Regions from separate parts of the Homo sapiens genome. Here region 2 is linked to region 1. The links are contacts of gene promoters, found by promoter capture Hi-C in human tissues and cell types (Jung and others, 2019). All regions are on one chromosome and are shown on one strand. Each heading gives the region's core, a stretch centred on a gene start or on the middle of the fragment in contact. The rest is flanking DNA. Distances are from core to core; before and after follow the strand shown. Region 1 holds the start of PER2 (period circadian regulator 2). Region 2 overlaps UBE2F (ubiquitin conjugating enzyme E2 F (putative)).

What was found. The method cuts DNA at HindIII sites, captures the fragments that hold promoters and counts their contacts. A contact is called where the count stands out against the background at its distance.
Region 2: a fragment that was not itself captured here is called in contact with the fragment with the promoter of PER2 in region 1 in 2 of the 25 tissues and cell types used here (hippocampus and pancreas).

What each region holds. Positions count from the first base shown.
Region 1 is chr2:238,287,230-238,290,238 of GRCh38, reverse strand. PER2 (period circadian regulator 2) reads left to right here and starts at 1,629. Exons shown (of 23, transcript NM_022817.3): 1 at 1,629-1,890. It overlaps LOC112268433 (a long non-coding RNA gene), which reads right to left and starts at 2,370. Exons shown (of 3, transcript XR_002959458.2): 1 at 2,342-2,370. RefSeq lists enhancers at 66-115, 1,190-2,084, 2,169-2,691 and silencers at 882-1,151, 1,492-1,641. The HindIII fragment of the contact is 9,111 bases long and covers 1-3,009 here.
Region 2 is chr2:237,988,943-237,991,951 of GRCh38, reverse strand. All of the region lies in intron 3 of UBE2F (ubiquitin conjugating enzyme E2 F (putative)), which reads right to left. The region is part of intron 3 of UBE2F-SCLY (UBE2F-SCLY readthrough (NMD candidate)); the gene reads right to left. Among named protein-coding and RNA genes, the nearest start is that of UBE2F, 23 kb to the right of the region's middle. The HindIII fragment of the contact is 5,368 bases long and covers 1-3,009 here.

The DNA of each region.
Region 1 (3,009 bases), core at 380-2,879:
CCTGACTGAGTGTGTGAACAGCATGCAGGCCTCCCGGGGCTTCTGTGGGAAGGGCTGCCCCGATGAACTTGGTATTTGCCCTGGTTTGCATCTGAGAAGTTGCACACACACCTTGTCAAGTAGAAGAGAAGGAGTTATCACACTCAGGAATTCCTGATGTGGGTTCATAACTTTTCCTTCTGTCCCATCCCTGGTCCCCAGGTGAGTCCAGGTAAAGAAGAACAAGAAGAGTAAAGAGAGATGCTGCGGGCTCCAGCTTCTTGGACAGTCTCGCCTTCCCCATGAGAGCCTACACATTCAGAGCCTGCTGCGTGGGAGCCTGAAAGCTCCTTCCTGTCCTGTAAGTCTCAGGCTTCTACCCAGACCCGGGGAAATTGTACTCTTTCTCCTGACACTTTAAATGGAAGTTTAGAGGCTCCACATGCCCCACACAATGCTTACCGAAACAAGGTGATGCAGGGTCCCGCGCTGTCTCCCAGGACAACCTCCTACCCCTGGCTCCTGCGTCTCTACGGCTTGCACCGTTGTAAGGCGTCCCTTTCTCAGGGCCCATCTTACCCGCCTTGGAAGTGCTGCCTTTCTCACGGAGCCTGTGGGGATAGCTCTGGTTAATTTATAGCCCACATCGCCCAATTTAGCATTTGATTAAGTTTCCTTTTTATGAGATAGTCCTTTCTCCCTAGTGATGCGCTTGGGGGCAGGGACAACATCATTTCTTTCTTTTGTACCTCCCCAGAGTAACAATGACTCTATTTCCTGAACCAAAAATTGCAACACGTGGTCTCAAAAATAAGAAAGGTCACTTGGTAGCTGCCGGGACAAGTGTCGACCACAGGCACCTCAGAGGCCCGGGTGGGCGTGCCCCCGGAGCTGCTGCAGGGCGGTGCTGCCACCTTCTCCTGGGCTGCTCCGGGGCCCCGCGATGAATGAGTGAGTGAATGAGTAAATGAATGAATGTGAATGCGTGAATGAAGCATGCCGCGCGGACTTTCCCGCGGCCCTGGCCGCTGGGGGCGCGCCTCTGGCCGGTGGCCGGAGGTGGAGGTCTCCCTCGTCCGGCTTCGGCGCGCCGGGTCTGCCAGGCCGGCCGGAGGTGCGCAGGAGCCCCGCGCCCAGCTCCCCCGCCCGCAATGGTACGCGCCACTCCGCGCTCCCCGAGCTGGCGGGCTTGAGGGCGTAGTGAATGGAAGGCGCCGACGCCGGAAGTGGATGAGACCACTAGGGAGGACGACGGGTAGCACGAACGCGCCGCGTCTCCATTGAGGAACCGACGAGGTGAACATGGAGTTCCATGTGCGTCTTATGTAAAAAGAGCGACGGGCGCGGCCACCAATGGGCGCGCGGCGTTCGTAGGCCCCGCCCCTCATGTATGCAGATGAGACGGAGTCGCGGCCAATGGCGGAGGCCGGGGGCGGGCGCGGCGCGCGCGGTCACGTTTTCCACTATGTGACAGCGGCGACTCGGCCGCGGCGGAGGCGGCGGCGCTGAGGGGATACGTGCAGCTGTGGGCGGCGGCGGCGGGCGCGGGGCCGGGCGGACAGAGCCGCGAGTCGGCGGAGGGACCGGCGGACGGGCTGACGCGGGCGCGGCCGGCGGTAAGTGGCGCGGCGCGGCCCCGCTGCGGCTTACGTAACCGCCGCCGGCGCGCGGGCCTCGGGCAGGTCGGGGTCCCAGCGCCGGCTCGGGCAGCGGAGGCGCCGCCGGAAGTTCCTTGGGCTGCTGGACTCCTCGGCTTGAAACGGCGCCGGCGTGGGGGCGTGTGCCCTTGGCCCTGTCCCAGGTGGAGAGTGGTCGAGCCGCGCGCAGGGTGCGCTCGTTTGAACTGCGGTGACACCGAGGGTTGGGGACTCGAACCCCCGCTTCGCAGCTCAGGAGCCTGAGGTCCGAAAGGTGAGGCAGCGTGTGTAGGGCACCGAGCTACCGAGTGACTGCGCGCGGGCTGCGGTTCCGTGGGCGATTCTCTTTTGGGAACCCTCCCTCCCCTCGCATGGGGAAGGCCAAGGAAACCAAGGGTCAGCGCAGCCGGCCCTGGGATCTGGAGGACCCTCGGGGAGCTGACTGCCTCTTCTGAGGCCACAGGGCTAAGTCCTGGGCTGGGGAAGGGCCATGGAGGGGCGCTGATCTAGGAGCTTTTCCTGGACACCCACGGGTCTCCTGGAATGGGTGATCAGAGGGACAAGGAAGTCCCGGTGCCAAGCCAGGCCTGGGAACCTGAGGGCGGGGAGACCCTCTAATGTTCGCCCCTTTGCCTCCCCTGGACCACCCTGTATTAATTCCCTTTCCCCGGACTGGATAGAAGGGAATGGGGGTGTCCACTCTTTGGTGCAGCAGTCGCGCCTACCTTCTGGGATGTACTTTGGCTGCCAAGTCCCAGACATAGACCAGGGGGTGGGAGGTGGCCTGCTTCCCCCTTCAGGAAGGCCAGGGTAAGGGATGACGAGTTGGTTGCCAGGGTTTCTGTAACCTACACAGAAGGAACCCGTTTGGAAAGCTGATTCATACAGAACAACAGAGCCAGAAGGCACCCTGAAAATCACCCAGAGTAACCCCTCAGCCTGACAGATGAGCAAACTGAGGCCCAGGCCCAGGCTGTCTGCAGGATCTTCCCATCGTCCTGGGGCAGGATGAGCTTCAGAGGTTCAGTGATGGCCTCCACTTGCGTGCTGAATCCTGGGTGGGCTGGAATTTGGGAGGAAGGGCCTTAAGTCCGGGAAATGTGTTAAGAACCCCACACGGTGGCTAAAGCCCCACATGGACGCCTCTCACCTGTATATGGCACAGCAGGACTGCTAGACTTCTTGGCCCACCCTCTACCCCCACCTGGGGCTTCTGGTCCCAGGCTGGGTGTGCCTGAGAAGAAAACAGGACTCTACCTGAAGGCTTTATTTGGAAATTGAGTTTTAAAATACAAGGTGAATTGATTTTTGTGTGCTATATGACTATAATGAAGAAAGGGACTCCGTTTTTTTTGAGTGGAAGCTGTGTGGTGTGCCAGCGCGGGGATGGCAC
Region 2 (3,009 bases), core at 237-2,736, 300 kb after region 1:
AGAGGTTGCAGAGAGCTGAGATCGTGCCACTTCACTTCAGCCTGGGTGAAAGAACGTGACTCTGTCTCAAAAAAAAAAAAAGAAATTATCAAAGTGGATTACAAAGCAATAAAACTATGCCAGGCGCAGCGGCTCACGCCTGTAATCCTGGCAAAACCCCATCTCCACTAAAAATACAAAAATTGGCTAGGCGTGGTGGCGGGCACCTGTAATCCCAGCTACTCAGGAGGCTGAGGCAGGAAAGTCACTTGAATCCAGGAAGTGGAGGTCGCAGTGAGCCGAGATCGCGCCACTGCATTCCAGCCTGGGTGACAGAGCAAGACTGTCTCAAAAAAAAAAAAAGAAAGAAAGAAAAGAAAAGAAAGGTTAAGTTCTAAAAAAAAAAAAAAATTTAACAGGTTTTTGTTCCAGTTCAATGCACCAGAATTAAGCTTTTTATCTACATGTAGGCATGCACTATCTGAGCCTCTAATATTTCAGTCTATCTGAAAGAAACATTTTAAATTTTTTTGCAGAGAAACCGCTAAAAACTTGCATGTGCAGAGCTCCAAACTAGTTCCGAATAGTTACTAAGTGGTACTGATACAAGGCAAGTTATTTTGTTTGCCTTTGTAAATATTTTAGAAAGATAATTAAATAGATAGTAAAGGGTTATTCATTGGTGGTTTCTTGTTTTCTCTTTAGCATAATGAGACATACTTTTGGAAAGCATGGCTTACTTGAATAAAATGATATAATTTCCCCCTCTTCGATTAGGAGAGAAGGTAGGGAGAAAGAATGAAAGAAGGGGCAGGGAGCATGCTGTCTTTTTATCTGACACCATAGCTATAGGGCTAGGAGATGTGCCATACTTCTTTCAAACCTAAGGTATGCAGTTACAATCCTGATTTGAAAGCCAGTCATAAAATTTTCTTGTTTTTAAAGTACACTCTATGGGTTAAAAACCAACAATCTCTGTAAGATATGTATCAAGGATGAATGAACCATTTATAAGTGGGACCTTTTCTGTGGTTTTGATTAAATGTCTACATGTGTTGGCCATGCACAGTGGCTCGTGCCTGTCATCTCAGCTCTTTAGGAGGCCAAGGTGGGAGGATCACTTGAGCCCAGGAGTTTGAGATCAGCCTGGGCAACACAGGAGACTCCATCTCTACAAAAAAATAATAATAATTTTATTATTATTTTTTTTTTGAGACAGAGTCTCACTCTGTCGCCCAGGTTGGAGTGCACTGGTGCTATCTCGGCTCACTGCAAGCTCCGCCTCCTGGGTTCATGCCATTCTCCTGCCTCAGCCTCCCGAGTAGCTGGGACTACAGGCGCCCACCATGATGCCTGGCTGATTTTTTGTATAAAAAATAATAATAATTTTTAAAAATTAGCTAGGCGTGGTAGCATGCACCTGAGGTCTGAGGTCTCAGCTGCTCAGGAGACTGAGGTGGGAAGATCACTTGAGCCCAGGAGGTTGAGACTGCAGTGAGCCACACTCATGCCACTGTACTCCAACTTGGGCAACAAAGAGAGACCCTGTCTATTAAAAAAAAAAAAAAAGGTTTACATGTATATACAGGCTCAAGTTGGGGGCCTGTGGGAAGATAAGATGGGACTGGAAAGCAGAGGGATTATTTTATTTTATTTTTATTAGGAAAATGTCCTAATAAAAGAGAAGAGTATAATGAACCCATCCCCCAGCTTCAACATTTTGCCAATTTTGCTTGTCTATCCTGCCCCCCCACAGTTATTTGTTTATTGTTTGTCTTCCTGTAGCATTTTAAAGCAAACTACTTCATCTGTAAATACTTCAGTGGGTAGAAAGATAACTTTTTTTTTTTTTTTTTTTTTTGAGACAGTCTCACTCCATCGCCCAGGAGTGCAGTGGCACAATCTCAGCTCACCGCAACCTCCGCCTCCTGGGTTCAAGCAATTCTCTTGCCCCAGCCTCCCGAGCAGCTGGGATTACAGGTGCATACCACTACAACTGGCTAAATTTGCACTTTTAGTAGAGACAGGGTTTCATCATGTTGACCAAGCTGGTCTCGAACTCCTGAGCTCAAATGATCCACTCGCTTCAGCCTCCCAAAGTGTTGGGAATATAGGCGTGAGCCACTGCACCCAGCCAGAAAGATAACCTTTTAACAGAATCTCAAGATATTGCCTCATTTCCGAGTTGAAGAAAACTTTGAGGTCAAGCAATCCAGTGTCTTTCAAAACACTTTCAACTGAGATCCACAGTAAGAAACATATTTTATATCACAACTCACGATACCTACCCATAAATTCTATATGCTGAAAATAATCTTTTGGCTGGGCGCAGTGGCTCACGCCTGTAATCCCAGCACTTTGGGAGGCTGAGGCAGAAGGATCACTTGAGCCCAAGAGTTTGAGACCAGCCTGCCCAACAAGGCAAAAACCCATCTCTGCTAAAAATACAAAAATTAGCCTGGCGTGGTGGTGCATGCCTGTGGTCCCAGCTACTCGGGAGGCTGAGGCGCAAGAATCACTTGAACCTAGGAGGCAGAGGTTGCAGTGAACCGAGATCTCACCACTGCACTCCAGCCTGGGCGACAGAGTGAGCCTCTGTCTTGAAAATAATAATAATTTTTTAAGAAACATTACATACTTACCCTCTCAAACTGATTTCACAACCATGGAGAGGTTGCAATCCACCATTATCTTTCCTACTTCAGATGGAGGCTGGAATGGGCCCTGTCCTGCCCCATGTCAGAGATATCTCCACATCCAATCCTAAGTTCTCTCTAGCACTCACCCAAACCAGCAGACCCACTTATAAAATATTTCACCATTACCCACAGACATCCTCAGCCCCAGAACTAATTTTAAGGGAAGTACAATGATAAAAAGTTGTAATTCAAAAAATACTAAAATGATCAAAGCTTTCAGGCTTTAATGATCTTTTGAAATAATCAAGGGTTTGGAAGATTAATGATAGAGAGAATACGACATGTATTACAAAAGTGAACTGCCTGATAGATAGCTTTCCGAATGTACGGT